Regions from separate parts of the Homo sapiens genome. Here region 2 is linked to region 1. Evidence: promoter capture Hi-C in human tissues and cell types (Jung and others, 2019). All regions are on one chromosome and are shown on one strand. Each heading gives the region's core, a stretch centred on a gene start or on the middle of the fragment in contact. The rest is flanking DNA. Distances are from core to core; before and after follow the strand shown. Region 1 holds the start of PRSS48 (serine protease 48). Region 2 overlaps SH3D19 (SH3 domain containing 19).

Region 1 (3,406 bases), core at 235-2,734:
GAAAAGGAAAAAAATGTGGTGAGATAGGCAGGGCAGAAGGAAACCCTAGGTCACATGGGACTCTCAAACTAGGGATGACCAGAGATAAGGCACAGAAGTAGAAAAAGGAATGTTGGAGACAGGTGCTATATTAGAGACTTTTCTTACTTTTCACAAATCACTTCCTAAATACTAGTCAGGGTTTTTTTTTTCTTCTTTTGGGCCACAAACACAACAGGTGTGGTTCAACCACACCTGTAGTCCCAGCTACTAGGGAGGCTGAGTGGGAGGATTGCTTGAACCCAGGAGTCTGAGGTTGCAGTGGGCTATGATTGCACCACTGCACTCTAACCTGGGTGACAGAGTGAGACTCTGTCTCTTAAAAAAAAAATGCTCTATGAAGATTCAAATTTAGCTTTTACTTGATTCAAGGTCACCATCAGGAATATGAAGTATGTTAGTTTATAAATACAATGATGCCCTCAGATGCGGTTGAGGTTGCAAGCTGTTTACTTTTGTGCTATTTGGTTTAACTGAATTGGCATTTTGCAGTATTTGTGTATCTTTCTTCTTTGCTACCTGTTAAGTTTTTTGCTCTCTCAGCATACCCTTTCTGTTTTTTGGGGGGACGGGGTCTTACTCTGTCGCTAAGGCTGGAGTGCAGTGGCGCTATCTCGGCTTACTGCAACCTCCACTTTCCAGGCTCAAGCACTTCTCCTGCCTCAGTCTATTGAGTAGCTGGGACTACAGGTGCCCGCCACCACGCCCGGCTAATTTTTGTATTTTTTGTAGAGATGGGGTTTCACCATGTTGCCCAGGCTGGTCTTGAACTCCTGATCTCAGGTGATCTGCCCGCCTTGGCATCCCAAAGTGCTGGGATTACAGGCGTGAGCTGCTGTGCCTGGCCAGTATACCCTTCCTTTAAATCCCTGTGGACCAGAAAAATAAATGAACAAGCATATACCTGAAATCATAGAATAGTGTTTGCTCTTCCAGTTCCCTCTGCTTGAGATGCTCTTTTCCTGGATCCTCTTACTTAATTTAGTTATCCCCTTCAGTTCTGCTCAAATGACTCCTTCTTAGTGAGGCCTTCTTTAACTACCCTTCTAAAGATTGCAACACTCCTGCCCCTGTACTTCAGATGCCCCTTTCCTTTCATAGTACTTATTACCTTCTAACAAGCCTTATAATTTACACATTTAATATGTGCATTGATTATAAGTCCCACGAAGATAGGGATCTTGTGGGTGTGTGTGTGTACTGCTATTTCCAATCGGGAGCATTGGAATGGTGCTGGGTATATAGTAGCCTCTCAGGACCTTCTCAGGCTGTGCTACTCATAACTAACATCCCATGGGTGAAGTGTCACATTGTTCTATGTGATGCCCTCTTTAGTAAAAATCCTCTGCCTCTGCCTTCTCAACCCCACCCTGGCGCTCACCTGAGATCCCCAGCAGAAGGAGCAGCGTGAAGGCACAGCCAGCAGGGCCCATGTCTCTGTCCTCAGAGCCAGTGAGCGCTTCCTGCTTCCTGGACTCAGGCTCCCAGGAAGAGGCCAATGGGGAGCTGCCAGAACTAGCTTCTCCTAGATGGATTCCTCTGCTTCACCCCCTCCTCTCCTTTGGTCTTCACCCGCTGCCAGATCCTGAAGGGACCAGACTTCAGAAGTGCAGCTGCAGGACCCAGGGGAGGAACTGGGGTCTGTGGCGCCCCCTGCTGTCCTGGGAGAGCAGGGTTTCTGGGGTTTCTGCCTGTGGTGTTGAGGAGTGGCTGGTTGAGGGCACTGGAAGAAACAGGACCCTGTCTCTAGCAAGGAGATAGAAGGTGGACAGGATTCTCCAAAAGCAAGAAATGGAAAAGAGGAAATGAACCCAGTATCTGGTTAATTTTTCTGAGTTTTTTTGTTTGTTTGTTTTCATTTCTGTTACAGTGTTAGCTGCACTGCAAGTCAAGTTTCCTGGGAAACAGACTCTAAGACAGAGATTTGTGTGCAGGAAATTTATTTTAGAGTGGTCTCAGGATCAGCAGCTCTTGGGTGGGTAGTAGGATTGGTTAGAGGGAGAGTTGAACTGTGATGCGTTTGCAACAGAGGCCACAGCCTATCTCACAAGTTTCTCTGGAGCTGAGGTGGCCCTCAGAGACTTTCTGTACTGAGCTAAGAAGGATGCGTTCTTAGGGGTCTGCATCATTGGATGCAGGCCACCTCCTAGGAGGGGGCATTACCTTGGGTGAGGTGGCTCTGTTGGCAGTTCTTGGAATAAGACTTAGCTGTGAACTGTCAGCAGCCAACACTCCTAGCTGCTAAGGGAATGAATGCTTCAGTTCTAAAGGGGGGTCTGGATGGTACACCACAACATCTACCTCAGAAATCTTCACTCTGCCTTTTGTTTTCTGTGCCAATTGTTTGTAGGGTGCTAGGTCTGTGGAGGCAGAATTCAATGAACTATTAAAATGTTACTGCTCTCTTGCAACTTAAAATATTGGGATGCTTGAAAGAAACATATAAGCAGTTTAAAACTAATAGGCCAGGCACGGTGGCTCATGCCTGTAATCCCAGCACTTTGGGAGGCCGAGGCGGGTGGATCACCTGAGGTCAGGAGTTTGAGACCATCCTGGCCAACATGGTGAAATCCCGTCTCTACTAAAAATACAAAAATTAGCTGGGTGTAGTGGCGTGCACCTGTAGTCACAGCTACTCGGGAGGCTGAGGCAGGAGAATCGCTTGAACCCGGGAGGCGGAGGTTGCAGTGAGCCAAGATGGCGCCACTGCACTCCAGCCTGGGCGACAGAGCGAGACTCCGTCTAAAAAAAAAAAAATAATAATAATAATAATAATAATAGAAGTGGCTGGGCGTGGTAGCTTACGCCTATTATCCCAGCACTTTGAAAGGCTGAACGGGGAGGATCCCTTGAGACCAGGAGTTTGAGATCAGCCTGGGCAATACAGTGAGACCCTATATCTACAAAAATTTAAAAATTAGCCTGGTGTAGTGATGTGCACCTGAAGTCCCCAGCTACTCGGGAGGCTGAGGCAGGAGGATCACTTGAAGTCAGTAGTTCAAGGCTACATGAGCTATGACTGTACCACTGTGCTCCAGCTTGGGCGACGGAAAGAACCTGTCTCAAATAATAATGGAAGACCAGAAAATGTAGATATTTTGGTAAGAACTATTCAGTTACAGGCAACTGAGGCTCACTTAAGCTAGCTTAAATCAAGAGGAGATTATTTTAAAGCTATTGTTTTGAGCTGAATTATGTCTCCTCAAAAATGTATCTTGAGGCTGGGCATGGTGGCTCACGCCTGTAATCCCAGCACTCTGGGAGGCCGAGGCGGGTGGGTCACGAGGTCAGGAGATCGAGACCATCCTGGCTAACACAGTGAAAACCCGTCTCTACTAAAAAATACAAAAAATTAGCCGGGTGTAGT
Region 2 (3,445 bases), core at 148-2,647, 100 kb after region 1:
TGTATCTTCTATTTTTTTCCTTATACATTGTTAACGTTATGGCTTGTTTTTATTTGTTTTGGTTTTGTTTTGGTCTCGTCAGCACTACAGGCACCTCTCAAGCCTCTTCAGCCTTTCTCAGCAGTCTCGTCTGGCAATCTTCCAACAAATGTGGCACCTTTAATCGTCTTTGATATTTCTGAAGAACCGAATTGTCCAGAAAACCCCAGTGCTACAAGATGTCCAGTGCCAAAACCAAGATCAAAAAGCAACCTCAGACCAATACCCAGAGATTCTCACATTAAAGAGCAAAGTCAACAGAAAATCAGCCCAGCAGCCGTAGGAGAGGAGTCATCCCCAGGCCGGCCCCAGTCTCTGCTGGACAACGCTAGCACCTCAGACAGTCAGGCAGTGATGAACATTATGAACACAGAACAAAGCCAAAATAGTATTGTTTCCAGAATTAAAGTGTTTGAGGGTCAGACAAACATAGAAACCTCAGGACTGCCCAAGAAACCAGAAATTACTCCACGTTCACTTCCTCCAAAGCCTACTGTTTCCTCAGGGAAACCTTCTGTAGCTCCCAAACCAGCTGCTAACAGAGCTTCTGGAGAGTGGGACTCTGGGACTGAGAACAGACTCAAGGTGACCTCCAAGGAAGGACTCACCCCATACCCTCCCCTGCAAGAAGCGGGAAGCATCCCAGTAACCAAACCTGAATTGCCAAAGAAACCAAACCCTGGCCTTATACGAAGTGTTAATCCTGAGATTCCGGGAAGAGGGCCCCTGGCTGAGAGCTCTGATAGTGGGAAGAAAGTGCCAACTCCTGCCCCGCGGCCTTTGCTGCTGAAGAAATCTGTTTCCTCAGAAAACCCCACCTACCCTTCAGCTCCACTGAAACCTGTCACTGTTCCTCCCCGACTCGCAGGGGCATCACAAGCCAAAGCATACAAGTCACTGGGAGAAGGGCCCCCAGCCAACCCCCCAGTTCCAGTTCTGCAGAGCAAGCCCTTGGTGGACATCGATCTCATCAGCTTTGATGATGATGTTTTGCCCACCCCATCGGGGAACCTGGCTGAAGAATCTGTTGGTTCAGAGATGGTTCTAGGTGAGTGAAAAATCAGCAGTGGAGGGGAATCTAAACTCATGATAGGGTATTTTAAATGGCACTTGCTGTTTTAGTTTCTGGTACATAAGTTATTGAGGTGTGTGTATACAAGTATGTGCACATGCATGTGTGTGTATAGAAACAGAGGAATGAACAGACAGATCAAGAAACATGGGAGCTATGTGGGGAATGGAGACAGGGAGGGAAGGGAAAATATGGGATGGGGGTAATGGAGTCAGAAATGGGGAGACACATGCATCGATTACTATTATATGAGCCAGAAGTAAGCAGACTGGGGCTAGGAGCTAAACTATAATAGGTTGTGGGGCTGGCTCCCCTTACTCTTGGCAGATAGAAGTTCAGACTTCACATTGAAAGGATCCAGGGAGGTTATGGAACATGTAGAAGGATGCAGAGGAAGCTTCTCTTAGATGGGAAGTCATGCAGTGGCCCCAGAGGGGCTCCTCAGATGAAATGGGCCTCAGCTGGGAGTGCTGGGAGAGGGGCCAGCTCCAGGGGAGGACTCGAAAATGTACGGAATGAGGACCCAGCCACATGTTGCAAAGTTGTTCCTTTAATCTTCACAGAACATCTTCCCTTGAGAGTGAAAAGTTTTGTAAATAAAATACAACAGATACAAGTTAGCTGCCAAGATCAGTACAATTAAATATCCCAGAAGGCAGAGAGTATGTTTTCTTTCCTCTAACTGTTCCGTTGGAGAGTGTGATGGTAAAGCTTATCTTTGATTTGTCAAACTAAGCTGCTCTACTTGTCATTGATAAGATTTCTTTTACTGCTGTTGACTTATTTGGGTGGAATTTGTGAACATATAAACTTAATAGAATTTTCAAAAGCTTAACTGTCACTGTATAAATGTTTAACATGCATCAAAATAGTACAGGCTCTGTGATTTCACAGCCACATTCTGCATAGCACAGGTGTGTTTAAAATGAAAACAAACATACACATTATTAAATATTCATCATGCACAGAACATTGTAACTGACACACAACATTTTAGCGTATAAACTAAAAGACATACATGGCTTTTGTCCATAAAGGGTGGAAGGAAAAACATTTGAATATATTAAGCTTCTGCAGTGTACCTAATGCTCTGCTAAATACTGAGACATACATTATTTTATTTAATAATTGCAACAACCGTCTGTGAGTTATCATTGGCCTAAGTTTGCAAATGAAGACAGTGAGACTGAGAGAGATCTATGGATCACTTGCCCAGTGTCATAAAACAATTGTTCAAGTCAGGATTCAAACTTAGTGTTTTTATTCTAAGCCTAGTTTATTTTTCACTGTATAATGTTGCTACCCAATATTTTCATGAATCCTTAACCAGGCAACACTTTAAAAACTTTTCAAGTCTTTGATAATACCATTTTCTTATATAAACCTTTTTGGTATTAACAAGATTCAGAGAAGGACAGGGATAGATAAACCCAACAGCAGCAAGCTAAAGAAATATTACCTTTTGTAGAACTTGCTAGTTTCTATGGGGATGGCAACTCAACTAATAATTGCTGAGAATTTATTTTGTATCATCTAGCAGATAATTATAGTCATCTTCAAAAAGGAAGGTCAACAATATACTTTAAGCATGAATACAGTCTCATGCTTCATACTCAGCCTTTTCCATTTCTTGATTTCTACCACTTCATTGAACAACATTTAATTATTGGGGCGTCTTTTAGCAAAGTGTGTAATTTGCTTGTGCTATCTGACTTTAACCATTGCTCTGGACTATGGGGTTATACTGAGCTGAATACTATCTTCTTTCTAAATCTTCTTTCTTCCTATATTTTGCAACTCACTATTGACACCATCACACACACACCAGCCTTTCCTGGAGAAACCCAGAGATCATCCTTGAGTCTTCTCACCGTGTCACACAGTGGCTAGCTGTTCAGATTTGGAGTCTGCCAGGGTCTACCATATTTGTTACATGACCTTGGGCAATTTTCTTAACCTCACAGTGCCTCTGTTTCCTCATTTGTTTAGACGTAATACTACTCCTCACCTAGGGTATTGCAAGGGTTAAATGTGATTATGCAGGAAAGCCCTATGATCATTAATTAGTAGTTATTATTGTTACTTCTCTGCCTTCACATCTAATTAGTTACCAACTCCTGCTGGTTTTACCTTCCAAATAGTTCTTGACTCTGCCTCTCCTTTTCATCCTTCCCTCTTCTGCCCCACTTTAGGCCTTTACACTCTGATGACTGCAGTGGCCTCCCAAATTGAGCCCACTCAGACAATCCTATCACAATCCATACTGTGGCTACCTAGGGGGAGTTTCTAGAATGCACACTGGTGCTTTTTGCCTCCCTACTTATGCCCTCCAAA

Evidence for each region. Contacts are between HindIII fragments. The study calls those that stand out against the background at their distance.
Region 2: a contact is called between a fragment that was not itself captured here and the fragment with the promoter of PRSS48 in region 1, in 2 of the 25 tissues and cell types used here (H1 embryonic stem cells and dorsolateral prefrontal cortex).

Annotation. Positions count from the first base shown.
Region 1 is chr4:151,275,239-151,278,644 of GRCh38, reverse strand. PRSS48 (serine protease 48) reads right to left here and starts at 1,484. Exons shown (of 5, transcript NM_183375.5): 1 at 1,421-1,484. The coding sequence starts at 1,472. All of the region lies in intron 1 of SH3D19 (SH3 domain containing 19), which reads left to right. The HindIII fragment of the contact is 14,422 bases long and covers 1-3,406 here.
Region 2 is chr4:151,172,312-151,175,756 of GRCh38, reverse strand. It overlaps SH3D19 (SH3 domain containing 19), which reads left to right. Exons shown (of 20, transcript NM_001378122.1): 7 at 83-1,087. It overlaps LOC105377485 (a long non-coding RNA gene), which reads right to left. Exons shown (of 2, transcript XR_007058329.1): 2 at 1,646-3,445. Among named protein-coding and RNA genes, the nearest start is that of SH3D19-AS1, 50 kb to the right of the region's middle. The HindIII fragment of the contact is 5,014 bases long and covers 1-3,445 here.